Linked DNA regions of Homo sapiens: region 1 is linked to region 2. The links are contacts of gene promoters, found by promoter capture Hi-C in blood cells and fetal thymus (Javierre and others, 2016). All regions are on one chromosome and are shown on one strand. Each heading gives the region's core, a stretch centred on a gene start or on the middle of the fragment in contact. The rest is flanking DNA. Distances are from core to core; before and after follow the strand shown.

What was found. Contacts are between HindIII fragments. The CHiCAGO score rates a contact against its expected background, and 5 or more counts as called.
Region 1: a contact is called between a fragment that was not itself captured here and the fragment with the promoter of ZNF239 in region 2, in 2 of 17 cell types (activated CD4 T cells and total CD8 T cells). The highest score is 8.9, in activated CD4 T cells.

What each region holds. Positions count from the first base shown.
Region 1 is chr10:42,545,115-42,551,424 of GRCh38, reverse strand. It overlaps the pseudogene ZNF37BP. Among named protein-coding and RNA genes, the nearest start is that of LINC00839, 73 kb to the right of the region's middle. The HindIII fragment of the contact is 3,766 bases long and covers 1-3,682 here.
Region 2 is chr10:43,571,735-43,577,939 of GRCh38, reverse strand. It overlaps ZNF239 (zinc finger protein 239), which reads left to right and starts at 3,324. Exons shown (of 4, transcript NM_001099282.2): 1 at 3,324-3,400; 2 at 4,263-4,303. RefSeq lists a silencer at 3,542-3,601. The HindIII fragment of the contact is 4,716 bases long and covers 1-3,947 here.

The DNA.
Region 1 (6,310 bases), core at 550-3,049, 1.0 Mb after region 2:
AGGTGTTTGCTGCATTGACAACAGAGTAAGAAAAAATCCGTTTGCTTTTTAAAATCCAAAGATGGTTTTGAGAACCTGAAACCAAGTTAGAGCAAGTTCGTTTTCCTTCCAAAAAAACTGGGCTCTGCCGGGCGCAGTGGCTCACGCCTGTAATCACAGCACTTTGGGAGGCTGAGGCCGGCAGATCACGAGGTCAGGAGTTCGAGACCAGCCTGACCAACATGGTGAAACCCCGTCTTTACTAAAAATACAAAAAATTAGCCCGACGTGGTGGTGCGCACCTGTAGTCCCAGCTACTTGGGAGGCTGAGGCAGGAGAATCACCTGAACCCAGGAGGCAGAGGTTACAGTGAGCCAAGACTGTGCCATTGCACTCCAGCCTGGGTGACAGGGCAGGACTCTGTCTCAAAAAAGCAAACAAAAAAAAACTGGGCTGAAAAATACCACATCACTTTTTTCAAAACCTTGTTGGGATTCTCTGGTTTATAATAAAGATTAAAACCTGAATATTTTTGTTTAGCATCAGTTTTAATGAAAGTATTATGTTCCATTCTTTGGCTTTTCCTAACTTGCTTAATTAGTTTAATATATTGGTTTGCATACTCTGTTAGAGTACAGCATAAGTTGTTTATAAGTCAGTAGAAAACCAAACGTTTTCACATTTGAAAACTAATGTGTCCAAGCAGTACATAACCATGCCAGAGTCATGCATGGACGTGTGAGTATCTCCCTTTTAGAGATGTTTTGCCAGCTGGGAGGTGGACATTTTTAGGCAAGTGACATTTCTCATGTTCTTTTCTTGTTTGTAAGCTACACCCTCTCGGTTTTCTCTGCTCTGCCAACACTAGTGGAATATGATCACATCCCAGGTAAGTTGTTTATTTTTTCACAGTTTTGCTTAAAACTAATTATTGAGGTTTAAAAAATGTCTATACATTCATATGAAAGTAGAAATAACATCCTGGAAAATATAGAGGAGAGGTCACATTACAGTTCATGGGTCAAATGCAGCCTACTGTCTGTTTTTTTATGGTCCACAAATGAAGGATGGTTTTTATACTTTTAGGTGGCTGAGGGAAAAAAACCAAGAGTATTATTTTGCTTGGAAATTGTATGAAATTCAGACTTCATTGTCTATGAATTTTTATTGGGACTCAGCTATACTCATGTATTTATGTATTGCCTGTTGGTACTTTCACACTACAAAGGCAGAGTTGACTGGTTGCAGCAGAGACTGTAATGGCCTACAAGCCTAAAATATTTACTGTGTGACTCTTTACAGAAAATGTTTGCTGATTTCTGATAGAGAGTTGATGAAGAGTAAGACAAAAATGTCATATAGGTGAATGCAGATCTTGTGATCTTACAGTTGTGAAACTGGAACATAAAACAGTTTGTCGGTGGGCTTTATTAGGTGACATTGTGAAACTTCTGATGACAGTCTTGCAGGTACTTAAAAAAGTAGTACAACAAAGTGAGTAATTCATGTGCAGTCCAGGGGAAAACTTAACAGATAGCAAAAGAAAGTATATGATTAAAAAATTCAAATAGGCCGGGCACATTGGCTCACGCCTGTAATCCCAGCACTTTGGAAGGCTAAGGCGGGTGGATCATGAGGTCAGGAGTTCGAGACCAGCCTGACCAACATGGTGAAACCCTGTCTCTACTAAAATTACAAAAATTAGCTGGGCATGGTGGTGCGTGCCTGTAATCCCAGCTAGTCAGGAGGCTGAGGCAGGAGTATCACTTGAACCCAGGAGGTGGAGGTTGCAGTGAGCCGAGATTGTGCCACTGCGCTCCAGCCTGGGCAACAGAGTGAGACTCCGTCTCAGGAAAAAAAAAAAAAAAAAAAAAAATCCAATGAATTGTGTAGCATTAGGACTCATGGTTGTTTAAAGAAACAGTCCTGGTAGGCTAGGGTGATCATGGGTTGTTAGGATGTGGCAGGCTTTGTGACAGCCTTAGAGACTGGGCAGAACTGGAATATTTGCAATAACTTTCGAGGGATTCTACCTAAAAAAAAAATTGTGGTAAAACACACATCACATGAAATTCACAAGCCATTTTAAAGTATAGAATTCAGTGACTTTAGTACATTCACAATGTTGTACAACCATAACCACCATTTATTTCTGGAATATTTTCATCACACCAAAAGGAAACACATCACCCTTAATAAGCAGTATTGTAACTTAATAAGCAGTTGCTCCCTTTTCCCCGCTGTGCTCCCAGCCCCTAACAACCAATAATCTCCTTTCTGTCTTTATAGATTTGCCTATTTTGGATATGGCATATGAATGGAATCATACAATTTGTGTCTGATCTCTCACTTAGAATAATGTTTTCAAGACCCATTTATGTTGTAGTTGTATATCAGTACTTTGTCCCTTTTTATGACTGAACAATATTCTATTATATGGATATATCACCTTTTGTTTATCCATTCATCTGTTGATGGACATTGGGGGTCATCCTGTGTTTCGCTATTGTGGAGAGTGCTCCTATGAGCATTCATGTACAAATATTTGTTTGAATACATGCTTTCAATTGTTTTGGGTATATACGTACAAGTGAAATTGCTGGGTGATATGGTAATTTTACATTTAATTTATTGTGAAACCGACAGTTTTCCACAGCAGGGTGCTTTGCAATCCATAGGAATTTTTAGTTAGCTTTTCTATTTCTGCAAAAAAGTATGTTGAGTTTTTGATAAGTATTGGATTGGGTAAGTATTAGAGTGGGTGATAACACTTTGGGGAGTGTTATCTTAATATTAAATCTTATAATCAATGAACATAAGATTTTTTTTCCCTAGGTCTTCTTTCCTTCATTAATATTTTGTAGTTTTCAGTGTACAAGTGTTGCATATCCTTGCTTAAATTTATTAAATAGTTTTTCATTTAAATGCTATCGTAAATTATATGAAATTCAGACTTCAGTGTCTATAAAGTTTTATCGGGACTCAGCCATACTCATGTATTTATGTATAGCCTGTGAGTACTTTCACACTACGAGGGCAGAGTTGACTGGTTGCAGTAGAGACTGTGATGGCCCACAAGCCTAAAATTTCTTTTGTTTAAATGCTATTGTAAGTGGAATTGTTAATTTGCTTTTTGACTGCTCATTGTAATGAGTACACAAATAATTTTTGAGTGTTGATCTTGTATCTTGTAATTTTGCTGAATTTGTTTCCTACTTCTAGTAGTTTCTTTGTGGATTCTTTAGTATTTTCTGCATATAAGATCATGTCATCTGCAAACAAAACTATTTCATTTCTTTCTTTCTAATTTGGGTTTATTTATTTATTTACTTAGCCTAATTCCTCTGGCTGAAATTTTTAGTACAATGTTGAATATATGTGGCCAAAGCAGGCATCTTTATTTATTGTTAGTTTTTTGCTTTAGCAATCTTAACTATTTTTGGATGTACAGTTCAGAAGCAGTGTTAAGTATATTCATATTGTACATCTAATCACCAGAATTTTTTCATCTTGGGAAATTGAAATTCTCTACCCATTAAACAATAACTCCCCATTTTCCCCTCCTCCTTGCCCCTGGCAACCACCATCCTACTTTCTGTTTCTATGAGTTTCACTATTTTTGCTATATCTCATATAAGTGAAATCATACAGTATTTGTCTTATTGTGACTGGCTTATTTCACCTAGCGTAATGTCCTCAAGCTTCCTCAGTGTTGTAGCATGTGTCAGAATTTATCTCCTTTCTGATGTTGAATGATATTTCATTGTACCCATGTTTTGTTTATTCATTCATCTGTCAGTGGACATTTGGGTTCCTTCCTCCTTTTAACTGTTGTGAATAATGCTACTGTGAACATGGGGTACAACTATTCTTTGAGATCCTTCTTTCAGTTCTTTTGGTTATATACTCAGAAGTGGTATGGCTGGAACCTATGGTAATTCTATTTTTAATTCCTTGAGGAAACACCGACCTGTTTTCTACAGAAGGTGCACCATTTTACAGTCCCATCCTCAGTGTACAGGATTCTGATTTCTCCATATCCTTGCCAACACTCGTTATTTTCTTTTGTTGTTTTGATAGCAGCCATTGTAATGGGTGTATGGTAATTTTTCACTGTGGTTTTGATTTGTATTTCCCTAATGATCAGTGATGTTGAGCATATTTTCATAAGCTTGCTGACCATTTATATATCTTTAATGGAGAAATGTCTGTTCAAATCCTTTGTCCATCTTTGAATCAGGTTATTTTGTTTGTTTTGAGTTGTAGGGGTTCTTTATATATTTTTTATATTAATTCCTCATCAGATACATGAATTGCAAATATTTCCTCCTGTTGTGTTGGTTGTCTTTTCATTCAGTTAACTGTGTCCTTTGATGCACAATTTTTAAGTTTGATGTGGTCCAATTTATTTTTATTTCTGTTGCCTGTGGTTTTTGGTATTATATCCAAGAAAACATTGCCACACGAATCCATTCTCCTATGTGTTCTGCCATGAGTTTTGTACCTTTAGTTCTTAGATTTAGGTCTTTGATTCATTTTGAGTTAATTTTTTTGTTTTTGTTTTGTTTTGCATGTGGCTATCCAGTTTTACCAACACTATTTGTTAGAAAAATTGTCCTTTCCCTATTGACTGTTCTTGACAACTTTGTTGAAAATCATTTTACCATACATGCATGGGTTTTCAAGATTATTTTGGCTAGTTGAGATCCCTTGAAATTCTATGTAAACTTCAGGATGATTTATTTCTATTTCTGTTACTATGTCTTCTTTGTAGACTTAGTTTTTTTTTTTTTTTAATCAATATGTAGTGTTTTTCTCTTGTAACAATTTTTGATTTAAAGTCTCTTTTGTCTCAGTATAGCCACCCTGGCATTCTTTAGGTTACTATCCTCTTCTGTCATTTCAATTTCAACCTATTGTGTTGTGTGTTTGTATCTAAAGAGAGTGTCTTGTAGACAATATATACCTGGATCATATATTTTTATTTATTTTGCCAATTTATTTTTATTTTTATTATTTATTTTATTTTATTTTTTTTTTGAGACAGAGTCTTACTGCATCACCCAGGCTGGAGTGCAGTGGTGCGATCTTGACTCTCTGCAACCTCTGCCTCCAGCGTTCAAGCAGTTCTTCTGCCTCAGCCTCCCGAGTAGCTGGGATTACAGGTGTACACCACTACACCTGGCTAATTTTTGTATTTTTTTTTTTTTTTTAGTAGAGATGGGGTTTCACTGTATTGGTCAGGCTGGTCTCAAACTCCTGACCTCGTGATCCGCCCACCTCAGCCTCCCAAAGTGCTGGGATTACAGGTGTAAGCCACCATGCCCAGCCTATTTTGCCAATTTCTGTCTTTTAGTTGGGAGTTTAGTTTATTTACATTTAGAGTAAATTATAAACTGATAAAGGACTTATACCATTTTGCTATTTGTTTTCCATACGTATTACATCTTTTTTGTTTTCAGTTTTTCTGTGTATGCCTTCTTTTGTGTTTGTTTTTTTCTAATGTGCCATTTTAATTCCTTTTGTATTTGTTTGTAGTCATTATTTACCTAGTGTTAATACTTGGAATTGCAATTAGCATCTTGAATTTATAACAATCTAGCTTGCATTAATACTAACTAAGCCTTAATATTATATAAAAACTCTCCTCCTATACGGCTTTGTCCCTGTCCTTTGTCTTCTTATTGTCTCATTTTATGCCTTCATAAATAGCGTGCACATTACCATAGATTTATAATTATTGTTTTATGTATTTGTCTTTTAAATCATATAGAAAAAAGAGAGAACATAAAAGCCAAGAATACAATAAGACTGGCTTTTGCATTTACTTACAGTAGTTACTTTTACCATTTGAATTTTTTGTGTGTTTCGATTGGAGTTACTGTCTAATGTCCTTTTGTTTCAACCTTAAGGACTTCCTTTTGCATTTCTTGTAGGACAGATCTAGTACTAATAAATTCTCTCAGATTCTGTTGATCTAGGAATGTTTTAATTTCTCTTTCATTTTTGAAAGGCAGTTTTGCCAAATGTAGAATTTTTGATATATATTTTTTTTCTTTTGGCACTTGAAAGGTGCCATTATCCTACTGCCTCTGGCCTTCATGGTTCCTAATAAAAGTCTGGCTGTTAATCTTATTTCAGATCCTTTGTACATGGTTAGTCCCTTATCTCTTGCTACTTTTGAGATTCTTTGTCTTGTGACAATTTATTATTTCTCTCAGTTTGAAGTTCTTTGAGCTTATCCTAATTATAGTTTCTTGAGAGTCTTGGGCATAGAGATTCATGTCTTTCATCAGTTTAGAAGGTCTTCAGACATTATTTCTTCAGATAT
Region 2 (6,205 bases), core at 2,075-4,574:
TAAACAAAAAAACAAGTGGATTTCATGAAGATAGAGAGTAGATTGGTGGTAACCAGAGTTCAGAAAGAGTAGAGGTAGGGGTCTGAATAGAGGCTGGTTAAGGGGTATGTATTAGTCTTTTTTCACACTGCTATAAAAAAATGCCTGAGACTGGGTAATTTATAAAGAAAAGAGGTTTAATTGACTCACACTTCCACATGGCTGGGGAGGCCTCAGGAAACTTACAATCATGTTGGAAGAAGAAGCAGTCACCTTCTTCACAAGGTGGCAGGAGAGAGAAGAACAAAGGAGGAACTTCCAAACATATCTCACAAACCATCAGATCTTGTGAGAGCTCACTCACTGTCATGAGAACACCATGGGGGAAACTGCCCCTTGTGATCCAATCACCTCCCTCCCTCCACTTGTGGGAATTACAGGTCCCTCCCTCAACACGTGGGAATTACAATTCAAGATGAGATTTGGGTGGGGACACAGAGCCAAAACATACCAAGGTGTAATACACAGTTAGACAGAAAAAATAAGACCTGGTGTTCAATAAACCAGTAGGTTAGCTATGGTTAACATTAACCTACTGTACATTTCAAAATAGCCAGAAGAGAATCATTTGAATATTTCCGGCATACAGAAAAGACAAATACTTGGCGATAGATATCCCAATTTCCCTGCTTTGATCTTTACACATAATATTAATCAAATTATCACATGTACCCCCAAAATATGTGCATCTATTATATACCAATTTTTAAAATTAAGTTAAAAATTAAATTTTGGGTTTTGCATGTGAAAAAAGAGAGAATATGGGAGAAAAGAAATTGGAAACATCCCTTAGGGACAATTTTTTTAGGAGTTTTGCTGTAAAGCAAAGCAGAGAAATGAGGTAGTGGCTGGAGAGAAATAGGGTGCAAGGTAAGGGGTTTTATTTATTTTATGGACAATATTACAGTGTATTCATTAGTATGCTGATAATTCAGTACAGAATGAAAATCTTGAAATACAGAAGAGAGAGAAGGACCTCATTCATGAGAAAGCATTTAACATCCAGGGTGCAAAAGAATTTTCTCATATAGGAACTAGGGCCAGTGACTCAGAATGAAAAGTAGAGCATACAGTTTCTAATGCAGAGAGGAGGGCAGATGTGCCTGTGAGGCGGTATAGAAGTTCTCTTTACTCAGTAACAGAAAGCAAAGTCATCAGCACTCAGTGAGATGGGAGGAGTTGTTGGCGGCTTGAAAAGAGAGTAGAAGACCAGGCATGGTGGCTCAGCCTGTAATCCCAGCACTTTGGGAGGCTGAGGTGGGACGATCGCTTGATCCCAGGAGGTGGAGACCAGCCCGAACAACATGGTGAAACTTCATCTCTTAAAAAAAAAAATACAAAAATTAGCCTGGTGTGGTGGCGCAAGCCTATAGTCCCAGCTACTTAGGAGGCTGAGGTGGGAGGGTTGCTTGTGCCCAGGAAGCAGAGATTGCAGTCAGCCAAGATCGCACTACTGAACTCCAGCCTGGCTCAAAAAAATAAATAAATAAATAATGAAAAGAGAGTAGAACCTGTGAAATAGTCATTTAGGAGAATGGATGGACTAAGAAATGTAGAAGGATAGCCAGGCAGCGTGAAGGGCCCACTTGAACTTAATGGTTATAAACTGAAAATGAAACCAATCATCCCAGCCATGTGGTTTTCTCAAACAACCTCTGCCGTACAGGCGCAGGCCAGGAACTGGATTCAAGCAGATTTGGGTTTCCATCAAGAGAATAAAACCAAGAAAGACTGGGACAAGAGAGTTAAGGGTAACGGCACATACACAGGACTGGCCATAACCATGCTCCATGGCCTCTTAAATTGAGTGAGGAGAGAAGTGAGCACATGAGGAAGTGAAGGTCAGGGCAAGGGTGGTAAATCTAAATAGGGAAAAGCTCTGTGGTTTTCCAATGAAGAATGAGGAGAGGAGTAAGGTCCAAGGGAGACATTTTGTGTTCCCCAGGCAAAAGGTAAGACAGCATCTCTGAGGAGGAGACCGAAGGGGACGTGGGCCTCTCCAAGCATCGCAGGCTGAAAATAATAGTCCCCCAAATATGTCCATGTCCTAACCCCCAGAAGCTGTGGATGTTAATTTCTATGGCAAGAGGGATTTTTTTTGAAATGTGATTAAATTAAGGATCTTGACGTCAAGAGATTATCCCAGATTAGCCAGCTGGGCCTGATGTAATCACAACAGTCGTTATTAGAAGGACCCACGAGGAGCCAGTGCCTGAGCATGTGATGTGATGATGAAGGCAGAGGTTGCAGTCATGCACTTTGAAGATAAAGGAGCGAGCCATAAGCCAAGGAATGCAAATAGTCACTGGGAACTGGAAAAGGCAAAGAAATATTCTCATCTAGAACCTCCAGGAGGAACTAGCCCCACCAACACTGACTTTATAAAGCCCAGTAAAACTTGATTTCAGACTTGGCACCTCCAGAAGTTTAAGAGAATACATGTTTGTTATACTACTAAGTTTGTGTTAATTTGTTGTGACAGCAATTGGAAACTAATACACCAAGGAAGGGGGAGGATGTAGAAGAGAGGTCCAGGCAACATCTCTTTCCTCTCCAAAATAAATCTGAAAGAAAGGAATTGGGAAAAGACCAAATGGGTAGCTCTGTGTCACTCGGTGAGAAGTGAAATAAACGTAAAATCCTGGTATCAACAACCCTTGTGTGCGTTTAGGAGAGTTCTGACTGCTGGGAGCCACTTGTCTAATTCCCTCACCTCCTGTGTTTGTTCCAAGATCCCCTATTTAAAATTGCAAAGTACACCTCCAGTCCTACACACCCACAAACGCACCTCGCCACACCCCGCCCAGCTCTATGCTTTCAGTACCACCTCATGACACACACGACGCCATATATTTACTATATTTATGGATTGCTTGTTTCCCCAACTAGAATAGGGCAGTGACTTTTGTGCAAGCATCTTGAACAGCTCCTGGTACACAGTTGGCTCTCAATTAATATCTGTTAAATGGATGAACTTCAGAGGTGAGATGGAAGATGCCGAATGGCAAATATTCACTTCAGAATGTTTTGAAAGGTAAAGATGAAATTATGGGTATTTACATCCTTTTCCCCCAATAGTATTTTAACAAATGAAAATCACCTTAACAGGTATTCCTAAAATAATTCTTATTTGTTTGTAATAAAAAACGAGGAGGAGGACTTGAATACACGCGTCGCTGACTCAAAGATGGTCCCCTCCGCCCAAGAATCCCGCTCCGCACAGCGCAGAGTTCAGGGGCCCGCGCCGGAAGTGGGCGTGGTTCGCCCGCGGCTTGCTGGGACTTGTATTTCGGGGCCCTAGGCGCGCGAGCGGTCAGCATCCGGAATCTGGCCCCTGCAGGCGTGGGGTTCCACGTGGGAGGTGAGACTGGCCGGGCTTCCCCAGCCGCTGGCAGAGGCGTTCAGGGGTCAGGAAATGGGTGTGCCGCGGGTAAGGCGCTGGGCCGCCGAGCTGCGGAAGCCGGGAGGGCGGCGATGGTAGGGCACGCGACCAGCGGAGGCGCGGCCCGCGGCGGCACGTGTGTCCCGGCGCCGCATTTCCGAGCTGCTGCGCCCCCGGGGCCGGGCTGCGGCCACACCGAAGCCTGTGGGGCCCTGCAGCTGAGCGGCCGCGCCTCCGATGGCCCCTCCTCCCTCCTGGCCGAGCTCTGGCCTGGGCCGGCTGGGGGCTTCGTGGTTGGCCACGCCGGCCTTTTCCTCGCCTGTGACGGGCGTTATTGCAGGGGGGTTTTCGGTGGACGTTAGGCGACGGACGGGGGCTCCTGTAAGAGACTGAGGTTTCTGTCCGCAGCACTGCCTTCGCTGAAAAGAGCTTGCATCTGAGCCCCCGCACCGCAGGAACGAGCCAGGCTCCTGAGAATGAGGTCGGGGAAGGCGTCTTGGGCAACCGAAATCCATCCCGAGAAGCTTCTCCTCTTAACTAGAACTTTAGGACAGAGATCGGGAAAGTCAGAGGAAATGGGCACGGCTTCGAGCTGCCGGCGGCTGCGGAATTTACCTAGCCTCTTGGTTTTGGGGGGAAAACTTGGCTTGTTTAATCGAAAGCCCTGTGGAGAGAGATGAAGGTGGTGACAGAAAATGCTTCACCTCTCACCTGATGGAGGGAGTGTGGGTGGAAGTGACTGAAGAAGCGTCAGAGGCAGGAGCGGAGTAACTTTTTCCCCGCAGTCTTGCTGGACTTGATTTTCATGGCTTTTTCTCTTTCCCTAACTCTGCCTTTCCAGGAATCCATCCCCTCTGGGAGTAAGAAATGACCAGGGTCCGGGTGAGTTGGCGTTCCATTTCTCCTAAAATGCCATCTCCCTGAAATGTCCCTGTGCCATGTGTTGTTTTCTTTATTGTCAGGCCCCCAGTACGGTATTTTATAGCTATGGATGTAGGGACATTAAGATACTAAGGACATGTAGCTAGCAGATGATGTCACCAGGGTCTGCACAGAGAGTTTTCACTGGCCCATCCTGCCTCCAAGAATTTATTCCACTCCTCAGAGCAGTGGGCTGTGCCCTCCTGGGGAGCCTCTCAAAGCCTGCCTTTTCCTGCCAGACATTTCACTCACATTGAAAGTCATTCCAAGCTATTCCATACTCATCCCAGTGCTAAGTGGTCTCAGCAAAACAGATAGAATGATAAACCACGGTGCTTTTCTTCAAGGAGCTTACCATCTTGATGAACATATTATATTACCTGTACACAAAAAAATGCATATTAATAGTGATAATTTATTAACTATGAGTCAAAAACGAGGAAATTCGTTAAATGGCAGCACAGTGGTTACAAAATCACTCTAGAAATGCTTTTCAACTAGGCTATGCATCAGAACTCTCTGTGGTGTTTTTTAAGAACTAAGCTTCCTTCTCTCTTCCAGACCTAGTGAAAGGAGAGTTTCACTCCTTTTTTATTCTGTTGATCTTTGTACATCCAAAGGTTTATTGTGAAATATCTCTCTATACACTATAAGTGTCTCTAGGGTAGGTAAAATGAGTTATTCATCCTTTATACTCAGGTTGATTTGTTCTCTTTCACTAGCATGTCTACATATTTAACTGTTCCAGTAAATTTTAAATTACCAAGTCGTACTTTTTTAAAGAGAGTTTTCAGTTGTCCCCATAAAACCATCTGTAGGAGGTTACCTCAAAATTAACCCTTAGACTCCCAGGGTATTTGAGATGGTCAGCCCCCACTTAGAATCCCATGGTGTTTGAGATGGTCGGCCCCCTCTTTGCCCTGTCCTGGCGTTTTATGGTGGAGAGCTCTAACTCGGCTAACTCTGAGAGAGCCGAAGGAAAGTGCCTTGTCCTTTGTTTCAGAGAGCAGAAGGCCAGAAATAAACCCCGTGTTTTCTTCCTTCAGGCTGTTCTTTCTCCATTAACTAAACAGGTCATCACATCAGAAGTTGTTTGAATAAAATATCAGACTGCGTTTTAAGGGAAAAAAAATGTTTTTTAACACTACCAGCAAAGGCCATCTTTTTGCTTGGCAAATACAGCCCTCACACACATGAGCTCTTAGAAAAAATCTGTTTAGAGGACAGTAAGCTGACTTGAGGTACTGAGAGCATGGCTTCTCTGTGCCCTGAAAAGTAATTGAGGACTTCAAGGGAGATTAACCTTAGTAGAATCAATACATTTTCCTTCCTTCGCTTCTGCCTGCTCCCTAATGATTAAGTATTCACTGCCGCTGCAACTGGGGATTGCCAGTTTAGTAAATTTTGAGATTCTGGTGTGTGTTACACAACAACTTTTTTAATTTAAAGGAAGGACTTCATTCCAAGCATTGTGTGTTTTCTATGTACCACACATTGTCCTTAGGTCTGCTGAAAGGCGGGAGTCTTAGTTAACCCTGCTTTTCCTCTGTGACATTGGGTAAGTCACTTCGCCCTTATGAACTGTGGTTTTTTTCTCTGTAAACTGAGGGTCTTGGGCTTGACCATCTTTATGTTTTCTTTTAGTTGTATTATTATTCATTTAAATTGAATGTGAATTTATATTTATCTTTCAGATTCCAAGTCAATTGTGGTAGTTGCTGGGGATTTAAAGATGAGTTGAGGCCAGACATGGTGGCTCACACCTGTAATCCCAGTACTTTGGGAGACTGAGTGGGGAGGATCACCTGAGGTCAGGAGTTGAGACCAGCCTGGCCAACATAGTGAAACCTCATCTCTACTAAA